2 separate regions of the Homo sapiens genome follow, and region 1 is linked to region 2. The links are contacts of gene promoters, found by promoter capture Hi-C in human tissues and cell types (Jung and others, 2019). All regions are on one chromosome and are shown on one strand. The core of a region is centred on a gene start or on the middle of the fragment in contact, and the rest is flanking DNA. Distances in the headings are between cores, read along the strand shown.

Evidence for each region. The method cuts DNA at HindIII sites, captures the fragments that hold promoters and counts their contacts. A contact is called where the count stands out against the background at its distance.
Region 1: a fragment that was not itself captured here is called in contact with the fragment with the promoter of OLFM4 in region 2 in 4 of the 25 tissues and cell types used here (H1 embryonic stem cells, dorsolateral prefrontal cortex, heart left ventricle and 1 more).

What each region holds. Positions count from the first base shown.
Region 1 is chr13:53,165,406-53,172,629 of GRCh38, reverse strand. No RefSeq gene overlaps it. Among named protein-coding and RNA genes, the nearest start is that of LINC01065, 17 kb to the right of the region's middle. The HindIII fragment of the contact is 4,126 bases long and covers 1-3,544 here.
Region 2 is chr13:53,025,519-53,032,997 of GRCh38, reverse strand. It overlaps OLFM4 (olfactomedin 4), which reads right to left and starts at 4,185. Exons shown (of 5, transcript NM_006418.5): 1 at 3,958-4,185. The coding sequence starts at 4,161. The HindIII fragment of the contact is 5,150 bases long and covers 554-5,703 here.

The DNA of each region.
Region 1 (7,224 bases), core at 232-2,731, 140 kb before region 2:
GAGCCACAATTGAAAGTATTGATGTCTGAGACAATATACAAGATAAAGTCATCCAAACAAAGGAGACTTGAAAAGGTTGGTTTTTCTAAACTACTTTGCTTTCTCATAACTATTTAACTACATACTACCTGCCTTTGGAACCAGCACAGTCTATAAAATGCTTCACCACAAATATCCAAAACCAGAGGCAATTTTGAAATATACATGTGAAATGAAGCTGGATCTATTCATATTACAGCCCCAGAGAATATATATCAAGCTAGAAGTAATGAGTTCCAGTTTGTAAGGATTTTTACAGCTCAAAAGAAATTGGCTTTTCCAAAGCTTTCCTTTTCTCTAGGTTGCCAGAGCACTGTGCTTATGCTTCTACTATAAAAGTATTTTCATTCCTTCTTGTTTATAAGTCAGCATTTCCCCTTCAAAATATTAGGATTCTTGTAGACAAGGACAGATTCTTGTTTATCTTTGCCCATAATGCTATTGCCTCCACTTCCCCAGCCCCTACACACCTAATACAGAGTCTTACACATACATTTGATAAATATTTGTAGAACTAACTTGAATTGCCTACCCAATCACAGAATTTTGTACATTAGCAAATAAGAAATCAAAAGCGTGGAAGACAATGGAAGCCAGTGACTCCAGATGCCTCTTTTCAGATAGGGTCTGATGTATCTCATTTCTGCAGCAATTGACAAGAAGAAGTATCACAGTAAATAGTATTAATCAGTCCAGAGTTTGCACACCACACTTCCTGTGCTTATATTACACTATGGAATTAAAGAAAACAGAGGAAAAAACATGAAAGTTCTCAAGAACCAAAAGGATAGAAAGAACTCTATTCTCACACCATATAGAAAAATTACCTCCTAGACAAAAAGGAGATTATCATTTATGCAACACAAAGGACAAAACAGGTGTTAGTACAAGAATAGATCATTTCAGGGGTCATAAGCTGAACCCTTGCTCTACATAAATCAACACAAATCAAGAACACACATGCAGGAATTAAACCACAATTTGGCCTTGTTTGCTATGTAACATTGTAACTAAAACTGGTACTATATGACATCTGCAAGCGTTTCATATGAGCCTGAAGGGAAGCTGCTTTCTGACCTTTGCAGATTTACAGTCCCACCTAGTATGAAACAGAACAGAATATGGTTGCTGTTTTCAGAAAAATATTTGCTCTAGCCACTTGTTGATGCCTTCATTACCGAACTCCAATAAATCTTCACTTGCTGTTTACTAACGAAGCACATTTTACTCCACAAAAGGCTAAATGTGTTGCAAATCAGACAAGGCACTTTTGGGGGGTTTGTGTTCTTTTGTTTTTTTGTTTTGGTCTGGTTTTATGGCTTGTCCATTTTAAGAAATCTAAAGGGCACTTAAACCCCAATGACTCACAATTCAAAGCATGAAATAAAAAGCAAATGGAGACCAATTTCAAACTAGCCTTGACTGAAAGTGAGCCTCTTGAAGTTACACAACCCAGGATAAGCTCTGGCCAGAACTGCGGGCTGCCCAAATTATTTGTCTTTCCTATGGGAGTAGAGGGTTTGTCCTTTTTCTGGGCTGTTACATAGAGGCTGGAGTAGCTTTGGGGAATATAAAGCATCATTTTGGCCACCAATCTTCCCCCTCACCCTACTGCCAAAAAAGTTCTAAACCAAGAAATCAGTTTGTCCTAGACAAAGAAGGCAGCATAATAAACTCAAGGAAGGAGAGAGTTGCTCTTTGTTAGGCTAGGTGTCTTATATTTTTATAGTGAGTCAAGTGCTTGATTCAGAAGATTTTGGAAGAGAATCAGGCAAAGGAGAGGAGAGAAAATGGCAAGACTAGAATAGTGACTGAAAAAGGAGGAAAAATAATAAATAGGTCTTGAATTGTGACTACTTAGCTCTGAAAATGGAAATTCGACAGTTGGGTTTCTTTTTATACATCCAGGACTTAACCTGGAATGTTTTCTCACTACCCCCCTACAATATCTGTCACATGACAAACTCATATCCATCATTCAGGCCTCAGCTCATGTATCATTTCTTCTGTAAAGCTTCCATAATGCCAAGAAAAGAACTCCCTTGTGTTGTCATCTCACTTAATTAGGCTCTTTCTTAGAGAATGCCTCCCCCACCACTCCGAGAGCACCTTGAGGGTCCTAGATTATACTCATCATTTTCTCCCCAGAACCTGTCATTATAGATGACCCAAAATTTTCTTAATAAATGCCTGTTGAATAAGTCTAAGTAGCTAAGAAGAAAAAAAAATTAAGTCTCCAGATACTTAAATTAAAAAGACATCTAATGGAGTTGCACTCACTGTATGTCATGAAGACCCAGTCTCAAATTAGGGAAGCACACCAGAACACAGCCATTATGAAATCAGCCTTTGATATCACAGCCCCTAAAAGGAGCGGGGACAATTCAGAGCATAATTTTGTAAGAAAAATGAAAAATAATAATCTATCCTTTTGGTTCATTTTCCAAAAGGATTTTAGCAATAAACACATTTTTTTCTTGAGAAAAAAATGAAAATATTTATTCTAAAATATCCCCATGTAATGTATAATGATATTCTGGGCAGAAATGTTCTACACCCACGTCAGTGTTACAAATCACATGGGTAAAGAACTGAGGAATCTTCTCCCACTCAGAAACTGCTCAGTCCTGTTTATGAGCAGCCATTTAATGCTATTCTTAAAAAGACCAATTTAAAATGAATGCAGCATGGACTGCTGCACAGATTACCATGGACACTGTCCAAATGTTGCCTCATAGTATGATAGAACCTAAAGCTTATTGAAAAGGGTCTATTTCTTTTCAATAAACCCCTTTTCAAAACTACATTTAGGAATGTGCTGGGTTACTAAAATTACTCAACTGCTCTATAATTTGAATAACTTTCTCCAGAAGAGTCTCTCAATTCTCTGTAGGGCATCAAGAGGCCTATGATGATCTATATTACAAGCATTCTGAAGACAGACATTCACACACACAGACACACCCACATACACTCACATATATGCATGTCCACACCCATTATGCACAAACTCACACATGTTCACATACATGTTTGCCCATACATATTCTCTCTCTCTCTTCTCTCTCTCTCTCTCTCTCTCTCTCACACACACACACACACCCACACACACACACACATGCACAATTAACAAGCTGGGAGGGAGCTCAGTGAAGAGAGATCCTTTTCGGAATAGCTATTACCTGGTACTCACATGATGAAATGGGGGTACCTAGTAAGCTTCAGCTCAGTCACCAGTTGGATGCTGTGATCACTATCTAGTAGCAATCCAAGTCCTATAAATCGAAGTCTCGTTTGATACTAGCACATACTACCACACACATCCAAATGTCTGCTAAATACTAAGGATAACCGGCAGGCATTATCAAAAACAACCTTGATATTTTTAAATCTCAAAAAAGTATGCTATCCTCACAACATTGGGACTGCTAAAAGCAGCACTTCGTAGGCCTGGAAGTTTCTCGGTATGGCTTCTCTAACTCCAGGGAGTAAATAAAAACTGTTTTTCCCATGGATTTCACCTCAGCTACAATTGAAACTCCACTGCATCCCCATGGCAAATGAATGAATGACTGGATGAATATGGCAAAACTCTCCAGTTCACATGAACTTTATCCAGGATGAGTCAATATGTGGATGTTTTCCATGACATGTGGTCCGCTCCTTTAGAGAAACCAAGGGGAAATTAGAAGCATGCCCAAGGAAATTTGGCCTTTCCCAGGTGTGTCCATGCTGAAAGATGCATTTATCTGCATCCTTCTCCTCCAGGTGCTTGACTTCATTGTGGAAGCTTCGTTCATTTAGAGGACACTGAAATCATGCATATTACTTTCCATACAAATTATCTTTGTTTCTTCCAACAGTGACATGGGAGAGAAATGACTCAACTTGTACCTATGAACAAAGAGAGCTGAGCAATTGTCCAATGACACTAATCAGAGCAACAGAAAATATGTATTGTTCATAGCCTAACTTTTTCCTTAGTTGAAATGTTTTGACCAGAAAATCAGATAATTATTTCAGATTTACACCTCATTTGTCTTATGTAAGCATCATTTCACTTATACTAAAGATAAGAGAGTTAACTCAAAGTTTTTGTCTAATCATTTGTACTAAATGAATGAAGTCCTAGACTAGATTTCCAACAAAGTTTGAATGAATAGATGCAAACCTCTCCATAAGTTCACATGACACTCTTTAGCCAAGTTGAGACTGAGAGAGACTGAATGAATAGAGAAATACTTATAGTATTCAAACTAAGAATAAGATCAGATTTGGAAAAGTGACAATATACATTCTGCATCTATTATGTGTGTGTGTTACATGTACATATTACATATATATATGTATGTATAAAGATTAAAAGACATATACAAATCTATCTTTACAGAGTATCACACCCCAATCATGCCTGCTATATTTTTAGTAGTTGTGGCATCTGCAAAGCTACAACAAAAATTCAAAAATTAAAAGAAACAAAAAGACAACAAATAGGTCTTTGAAATCCATGCCAAAGAAGAGCCTTTTTAGCTTGAACTAAGCCAAAGTGTTCAATTTGTCTCTGCCCCAGATGAAACAGTTTCCATTTGGAATGCTATATGAAGATGTTTTGCTTTTGTGGAGATAATTGGCTCTAAGCAGTCATAGTAATTAACAGCATCAGGTAGCTCAGGCAGCATTTGGTTGCCCATTGCCTATTTATTTGTGAGCAAATGGGAGGGGGTACGGGTGATGGGAACAGATGGGGAAGAGACACAAGTGCTTCATTGGCACCTTGCACGGATGCCTCATGCTGACTTTCTCCCTCTGGCACCATCATTAGTGCCTCTGGCTTCAGAGCCAGGTCTGAAGAGCCCGTGGGCAAGTGCAGATGCCACCAGCTGTGCTGGCTGCTTTTCTCTATATCCTGCTCTTTGCCCTCCACTCATCTGGCATAAAGAGAGAATTTCTGTGCTGATAACTTCAATCTCTGCACACTAGCTGAGGAATTTTTTAAATAACAACCCAGTAGAGCTGTAGTTAGAGGTTAATTGGGCATAAAGACAAAATGTGAAAAGACCCAGCTGTTCCTCTCAGAGAGGATTCCAAAGAGTTATTATAACTGATTGTTATCTTTCAGTGACTTTTTCTAGTCTGGTGGCAGTACCAGCAACCAAGGTGGGATCAAAGTCATGGGGAAGGAATGTCAAGATGAGATGCCTGTGAAAAGGAGGGTGAAAGTGCAGGGGAGAAATCATAAAAAGTGACAAGTACAGAAAAGGAAATAAATACAAAGAGCCATAATAAAATTCTTTGGCTAAACGTAGGGTAAGTGATGTTTATTGAGCAATTACTATCTACCAGACACTATTGTAAGCAATTTGCAGGACACAACACTGTGAGCTTGGTATCAGAATTATCCTCATTTTACATATGAGAAAACATGGGCTTTAAAAATGGTTGGATGCCATTTAGCTGTTAAGTACCATACTGTGATTCAAACCCAAGAAGTCCCTTCTGAAGGCTCTCCTGGGAGTCCGGCAGCCTGGCATTCTGCTCTGGACCAGCTTTTGTGTAGTGGAATAATTTCCAGTGGGTCACTGAATTTCAGCATCTATCTCTATAGGTAAGAGCAGCCATTCCAAGTATGGTTGACCACCTCCTGCATTGGAATCACTGACAAACTTAGTAAAAGCATAGATTTCCGGGTCATTTCTAAGTCTAATAAATCAGAATCTTTATGGCAAGGTGCTCAAAACTGCATTTGTAATTCCTCTGAGAATTTTTAAGTTTGATAAAGTTTAAGGATTGTTCAACCAGATGACCTCAAAGTATCTTTTGAATCAAAAATTGTAAGGCACTGGTGGTTGCTATGGCACCCAAGGAAACCATTGCATTCAAATTTTGCTTATTTAAAAGAACACTCAAAATAGTAGCTCTCATTCAGCAGTTTTATACAGTATAAAGTGTTTTTACATACAAGAGGTGATTTTGATGACTTTCCTTTATTTCCAAAATTCAAACCCATCTTCGAAGGTTTCTAAATATTGAGGAAATGAAACACCTCAGGTTTAGGACTATTCTAAAAATGTCCACAGCCATGGCAGTATATTTGGAATTAGACCACCTGGTACAGTTTTAAAGGAGGCAATACTCTATTGGATGTATGAGCGCTTTTTAAAAAATAAATAAATAAAACTTGATTACCCTGATCACACCTCCCAAACAGTAAATTGTGTTCCATTGAGACATCTGAAATTACTTTTTACTTGCAAAAACAGTGATTTCCTGTAGCTCAACCAAAAATGTGTGCATATGTTTGTGAATGTGTATCTGTAGGGGCTGGATATAGGTCCTGTGACAACAGTATTTAAATATCAACTTGCTTGGTCCTTGTAACGCCATGCTGCCCTCTTAGTGCATTCTCAACAGATGTTAAGTGATGATATTAATGATGAAATTTCCCACTCAACTTCCCAGACTGTGTCCTAAGTCCTTAGATCTTAATAAAAAGGTAAATCTTCACAACCACAGTGGACCAATAAACAATCAAACGAAGAATCTACTAACTTATTTCTTCCCATCCTTTCCCAAACATAATCTAATACATGTGCCTCCAGCCCATAAGAGCCATGGCATTTTCCCCAATTACTCTGCATATGTGAATTTACTGTGTCTTTTGAAAGGCAGCTTATCCTCCAACGGATTTTGTCGGCAGCCTATTTCTTCACACTATTCAGGCCATTTTCTTCCAACTAAATATTCAGTTGTTGTCACTAAAAATATATCAATAGGATAAAGAAATCTAAAAGTCAAAAATTAAGCAAAGTGACATATATTTGCATGGATTGAATGCTTCAAGGAAAAATAAAAGCAACTGAGCTCACTCTGCTACATAAAATATTTGTGCCTTTTTCCCCTTTTGCGTCTTCCTCCTTGGTGCCCAATTCTGGGTGCCAGTGGGACTATTTGACAGCAGTGAGCTCTAACTAAAGCCTCTAGTAGCTCTCATTCAACAGTAAAATTGTTGTCTTCCTCTGATCCTCAGATTATGGAGATGAGGAGATGAATGTACAGCACTAAGATTCCTTACCGAGATAGCTTTTCACTCTTTTCAGTGAGAAAAAGATCAAAAGGAAACTGGCTAATTAGCATACCAAAGGAGACAAAAACCCCTAGAGCTTTATCGTTGTTGCAATCCAATAA
Region 2 (7,479 bases), core at 2,936-5,435:
CTTTTTATGAAACCTCTAAGGAGACAGCAATGGTCTTCAGAGCCAGAAGTGACTCTGGCCATGTCTCTCAAAGTTCAGGTCAGCCAGCTGCAGGTGGTGTAATGGGTCCTGTGCATTTAATGGCCACCAACCTCCATAATGCCTGATCAAGCTGGGTCTAGATGCTTCTATAATGAAGACTTATTTTATCACTGGCCTCGGGGCCAATCAAGGCTTTTGCATCTAAGTTGTTTTTAATTTAATTTAAGTTTCAAGATGAGCAGAAAAAAAAAATATGTGTGTGTATCCAATCATATTTTTTATGTGTTTAGTCAAAATTTATTACCTTGGTCTCAATTTTCTTTTCCAATCACATCCCTACGTGGGAAACAGTTCAGGAGTAGGGAGGAGAAACAAGCAGATTTATGTCGAACATAGGGGTGGACAGCAGGGTTTGAATAGGGGAAGGGTCTTTGCCAGAGATGAATAAAGACTCGGTAAGATACACCAGGAACCTATCAGAGAGGCCAGCTTCCCTTGAAACCAGCTTTACTCATTTCTCCAAAGATAGAAAGACTCCAACTCAAGCATGCCAAGGCTTTTACAGAAAAGACCGACATATCAAGGACTTTTGAAGAAATAGCTTATTATAATAACAGTCTAGCAAAAAAAAAATCTTGCATTGCATTTTAACAAGGGGAGTTTAATTAGCTGCACAAACAGGGTTGGGCCATTCTCAGAGTTCTCTGAAAAATTCTGCCAACTCAGAAAACAGTGGATATCATCAAGCAATCTCTAGACAGTCAATTAGGAACCACTAGCTAACAACTTTTAGTCCTGAAGTTCACTTGAAAGACAGACAAGTAATTATGAGCCCTGCTGTCAGCCATTCCATCGGTTTCTATTGAACATCTCTGTCCCAAAGCTGTGGACTCCCCCAGCTTCCATCCTGCTTATCATCAGCCCAGCATGCTCAGCTGACATCAAAATGGTCCATAAGTTTGATCAGTGTCTCCCATTAGAGATATTTCTGCTCCTCGCATTCAAAGACAATGAAGCTAATGGTGATGAGTCTCTCTCTGCGGTGAATGCCCAAACTCTACATGAATGAAGCATGGGGGATGGGAGACAAAGACAAGAGCTTGTCCCCTTGGCCTTTGGAAGAATATGCGATTCCCCTTCTGTAGGGCAAATAGGACCCTGAGTACCTCACAAGACACCTTATATTGGTAGGTTTTCCCTAAGCACGTGTTCAATTAACATTTACTGATGTCTACACTATGCCAGGTTCTGGCTTTAGGGAGATGATTAAGACTCAATTTCTGCCCAGGAATCAGGCCCACTGTCACTCTGAAAGCCCTACTTGTTTTTTCAAACCAGCCTTGTAGCCTGATGACAAGAAAACACGTGACTCGTTGCAGTTCCAACTATACCAGTTACTCTGTGGAGTGAGCATTGAGGCTTTTCCTAGTCTTGTGAATTGAGGACCCTGCAGAGGCCCCTCCTCAGGAGGGAGACGTCTGAGGCAGAGAGTACTCTGAGTGCTTACAGCAGAAGGTGCAACTCACATTTAAGGTGATTTAATGTTGCAACTGGCTCTAATTAGTAGCCAAGGCTAAGTGTCAGCAAAGATTCAAGGTATAAAATAATGGTACTCAACATTTTCAAAGTACAGAAAATGATATGTTTGGAACTTACTCAATGACAGTTATAAAAGGGTTTTCTACCACCTTCCAAAGAGCTCATCAAGCTGACAGCCAGCCCCAGAAAATTAGGTTGATAGTGAAATTGACTCCTAGTCCAGTATAAAAAAAAAGTTGGAGTTGTGATACTGACTCACCAGGGAGAGATAAGTAAAAAGGAAAATTAAAACCTCTAAGTCCAATTTAACTACCATGTCTCATCTACTTTTAAATATCTGTCTTTTTACCAGACAATAGGCATTCTGGATTTCTCTGTTTCTTGATCTGTATTTTATTTTCTATTATTATAGTTGATAATCTTACCCAAATGCTGGTTTCTGACTGGTGATGGAGCTTCATAATAAATTATTATTGTTAACCTCAGTCCAAAAAAGAGTGCTAGACAATTCTGATCATCCCCAGAAATCATTGAGTATCACAGAATAAACTTATGTAACTGATTTCTGACTGCAAAGAATCCTTGTGCCTACTTATGATTCCCAAGCCTCCCTCCTCTAACTAAAAAATAAGCAATTTTCATCTATACTCCTTGGAAATATAGAAACCTATATGTACAGACATGGTGAAGAGAATGGACAGACTAATTTTGAGCTATATAACTTGCTAGCTTAGTGACTTAAAACTAATGACTTCACCTTGATAAGCCTTAGTTTTCACATCTCTAAAATGGGACCATTAATTGTACCTACCTCTTAGGGTTAAATAAGATAATACAGGCCAGGTGCGGTGGCTCATGCCTGTAATCCCAGCACTTTGGGAGGCTGAGGCAGGCAGATCATGAGGTCAGGAGTTCGAGACCAGCCTGACCAACATGGTGAAACTCCATCTCTACTAAAAATACAAAAATTAGCCAGGCGTGGTGGCGGGTGCCTGTAATCCCAGCTACTCAGGAGGCTGAGGTGGGACAATCGCTTGAACCTGGTAGGCGGAGGTTGCAGTGAGCCGAGATCGTGCCACTGCACTCCAGCCTGGGTGACAGAATGAGACTCTGTCTCAAAAAACAAACAAACAACAACAACAACAAAAAGATATATATTATGTACTTAACCTAGTCCTGGCATTTATTAGACACACAGTAAATGTTATTGCTGCTGTTTCTATCTAGGCCCTATCCAAATCATTTGTTAATTATCACATTTTTATTATCTGTAATTTCTGATGGTCAAAATAAAACAAATAAAAGTCTTTTCCTCCCCCTTCTCCCATTTGCCCTTCCATTCAAGCATGATAATGTAAGCAGCTACCTGACCTGTGAGGAAAGATCCTAGAGGCTTAGAGAGAGAAGCTTTGGCCCAGATAAGACTCCCCCACCCCAAGTTATACCTTAGCAAAAATAGCCTAGGAGGTTTGCAGAGTGGGGTTCCCGCAGAAAGGCCCAGAGTGAAATGAATAACTGCTTCTTACCTCCTAACCTCTCATGCCCTCCAGCCCATTCTCCTTTCTTTAAAGGAGATCCAAAGAGGACTCATCCCCCACGGAACTGGCTTACTATGCCTTCAATGCACTTAGCCTAGCTGTACCAGCCTCGTTGTAATGCATGACTTTTGGTTTTGTTTGTTTGTTGCTACTGTTGTTTGGAGCTGGAAATGGTCCTGAAGATTCCCTGTAAAGAAGACTGCAAAGAGTGAACACTCCCCTAGGCGAATGTCCACTGGTAATAACACTTTGCTAAAGACCAGTAACTCCCCCCTTATTTCTGACACCCACCTCCTTTATAAACCAGGCCAAGAGAAATGGTCAGGGCTTCAACTAGGGCACTGCGGCTCTCACTCCCTCGAGGGCTACTGTTCACCATTCCGGGATCCTGCCAGGCAGCAAAACAACTGGACAAACTTCCCAGAGCTGCAACTCACAGAGTCTTTCCCTAACAGTTCCCATCTTGGACTATATATTAGAATCACCTGGGGAGAGGTTTTTTAAAATATTTGATTTGTATACATCTATGTAGGATTTTTTTAAGTACAGAACCCAGGCATCTGTACTTTTAGAGTCCCCCCGGCCACCCATTCTAATGTGCAGCCAGATTTGAGAATTCCTCTAAAGCATAGATATTCCCAAAAGTCCCAGCTGGAGAACTGCGATATCGTCTCTCTTGCTAACAATTTAATTATTTTACTGAGGCTTTAATTCATTTCCGGGGCACCTATAGTTAACAAAATGAGTCGTAAATCTTTTAGAGTGCCCAGGTCTAGCCATCCATGAAATTGTATTCAGGTACCCAAAAGCAAATGGAAGGGAATGAATGCAGCTCATTCAGATTCTGGGGCCTCCTCACCTGGGACACAGAACCTCCGCTGCCTAAGCTGCGGCTGGAGCTGGAGCCCGACCTGGAGCTGGAGCTGAAGCTGGAGCTGGAGTCAACACCTGGGAAAGAGCTGAAGCCGGGGCTGGGAATTGGAGGTCCCACATCCCCCAAATCCCCTGCAGCTTGGCCAAGGAAGAACAGAAGGGCTAGGAGAAATGAGAGGCCGGGCCTCATCTTGTCCTCTTAGCTGGAGCCGCTGGCTCTGCAGAGAGCCCAGGGGCTTCTTATAGTGCCCAGTGGTGATTTCCCCATGGCCAGCATGTAGGAAAAGAGGGAGTGGCCAGGGAACGTGTGAACTGCCCCAGGAGGTTCAGGACACCCAGGAATCTGAGTCATGGCCCACACCTTGTCAGTGAGGCCCACTCTGTGAGCTGCCCTTGGATCCAGATATCCCCTGCCAAACATTAACTCAAATGTGCTTTGTAAAGCCCAATATTTGGTTTCCCACTTGGTACTTCCTTGAAAGAGATGAGACCAAAGTAGTCTTTGTGGATGACACAGAGTTTGGAGGCTCCATGGAGGAAAAGCAACCCTCAGTCCTTTGCCTCACAGCACTTCTAGTGCTCTCCCCCATTTTACTGAATACTACTTTTCACAGACAGTTAGGGAACTTGCCTTAGGGACTGTGGCTCTCCTCCAGGAGCGACTGAGCTTCCCTCTTCAGTTCCTATTGCCCAAGTTGTCGTTGACCTGTTCCTTACAGTGACTGTTTCTAGACAAAGTTGTCTAACAACCCCACTCTGAAGGAAAGACCAGCAACGTTTTGTTCCCTGGCCAACCAGGTAGGACTCTGCCCTATCAAGTACTCACCACTGTATGCTTCATATAGGGAAGAGAAAACACCCAAATAAACAAAGGGATCCCGATGACCCAGTGCCCGCTCTCCCAGGCCAGGGCACTGCCTCAAACCCAGTCAAGGAGGACCCCAGGAGCAGTTTCTCTCTCCAGAAAACTTTGACCTCTATTGCCCCTGAGCTTCTTGTGAGCCAGCCAGGCATTCAAGATCTCAAGCTTATTCTTCATAAAACTGAGAAATAAGATGCATTTTCTCTTGCTCAGCAGCTCTGACCCTGGGCTCCAGGATCCATTTGCCCTGCTCAACATTTCACACACCTTTGTGACCTCTGCCTTCTTCCCTGGAGAAAGAAAAAGGTGTTAGTCTCGGTATTAAGACCCAGCTCTGGGCCGGGGATGCTGGCTCGCACCTGTAATCCCAGCACTTTGGGAGGCCAAGGTGGGAGGATGGCTTGAGCTCAAGAGTTGGAGACCATCCTGGGCAATGTGGTGAGACCCTGTCTCTACAAAAAATGAAAAAAATAGCCAAGTGTGGCGGTATGCACCTGTGGTCCCAGCTACTTGGGAAGCTGAGGTGGGAGGATCACCTGAGCCTGGGAGGTTGCGGCTGTAGTGAGCCATGTTCACACCACTGCACTGCAGCATGGGTGACAGAGTAAGGCTGTCTCAAAAGAACAAAAACAAACAAAAAAGCTGTGTCACAATGAGTCGGTGGCCTTGAGCATGTCACTTAGCCCCTCTAGGGTTGTAACAATTCCTAAATTGTTTGAATTAAATGAAATATTGTATGGGAAGTTGCTTATGACTTTTGACGTGCCATAAAAATGTCAGCTTTTTCATTGTTTGTTTAATTTCCTAAAGACTAGATCAATATGTAAGATTGCTGGGTTCAAAACAAGGAGAGAAGGTTCATGCCCCACTCCACCCCACCCCAGAAGCTCCACACAAACTCTCAGAATAAGCACAGTGCTAATGTGAGAAACAGGGTCTTAAACCCCTGGTACACTATTCAGAAACTGGGGTGGTGGGGAGGGGGAAGGGGAGACAGGAAAACCACAAATGGATGGATAGAGAGTGAAGAAGAACAGATAGGGAGAAATGTGGGCTGTAAAGTTCATTGTTCTCTGTGGGAAGCAGTTCAGCCTTGGCCTCTTTGGTCAAATGTTCTAACCACTTAGATCCCCAGTCCAAGGCAGGGAATGCATACAGAATGTGTGAGAATGAAAACTGGGAGACTGAATCCATTATTCTAAGATTGAATGCAATGAATATGGACATAAGGAGAAGAATGTGTCTCTACCTCCCAGCACAATTCCCCTCTTCCTCCCGATTCCCACCAAAACAAATGGCAAATCTGTTCTCATTTGCTAGTAGCCTCTGCATGTGGCTGTAATGAGCCTTCCTTGTACCTTTTTTCAAGGAGCATGTTGGTGCCCTGTCAGAAAGAAAATCTCATTAACAGTGGTATAGCCTGTAGTCATGACTACCTTTAAGGTCTCCTATGGCCAATTCATTAGAAGACCCCTTACCAGAGGGGTGGCAATACTGCAGAAATGGGACAGCAGTTCTCCCAAGCACAAATGTGCCTTAGCCAGGGAAGAACCACCACCCACTGTGCTCATAAGCTTCTTTGTTCTTGTATGGCTCCAGAGTTTCCAGAATAAAACTTTAATCTATTTGGTAGCCCTCAAATGCACAAAAGCATTGGTGATGCCTCCGTAATGAGATTATTAATAATAATGAGATTATTAATAAAAATAGTTTGATCAGTTTCCCTGCAAATACCTTTGTCCTAAGAAACAAGCAGCCTCCTGGTTGTATGACAGACTCAAAGACAGGAACAAAATTATCAGAGCTGCAAAGCAAAGTGTATTATTTGTAAAAATGTGTTCTACCCTGGGCTCCTTCTAGAGTAAGGGGTCACCGAAATTCACATGAGTAATACAGCAATCTTCACTGACAGTTTGAAAGAAAGTTACTATTTATGCACTTCATTAGGGGACCTCCCCAAACCGTACTTCTTGAACAGTTGCAACACACAAGGAAGACATCCGTGTAGACATAACTTTAATTTAATCCTCCTGTCATTAAAAATCAAACATACTGCTGCATTTTTGCAGGAGGGTATCTATGGGGTATCTGGTGTATATGAGGAAAACAGAGGCTGTGTTTGGTCTACAGATTGGTAATAGAGGCTTTTCATATCAGTTGACTACATCGTCAACAACCCTCAAATTTCTATTAGCAATATCAACAATCGTGTATATAAGTAATAATCAGCTGACCCCATTTATTTACCCTGGAAAGTGGTCCCTCAGTTAACAGTGTGTGTTAGAGCCTACTCTGTGCAGAACATCAGGCCCTATGATGATAAGGAAAGAAGAATGCATAATTTTTTCTAATGAAAATGCCTAGTCACTTACGGAAGGCAGGCCACTTCAGGGAATATACTAGGAATAAACACAAATTGAACACAAAACCAGTTAAATGAATACTGAGAAATGACTGGATAGACTCCAGAGACCCAAGATGGGTTGAAGTGTGAAGAATTTGCCAGGTGCTGAGCTTCTTAGGGATGGAGACCATGGCTTCATTGGTTTTCAATCTCCAGCACCTAGCCCAGTGCTTGGCATTTGGTGTCTAATAAACGTTTGTACACTGAGGAATATATTTAATAAATGAATGCATGCATGCATG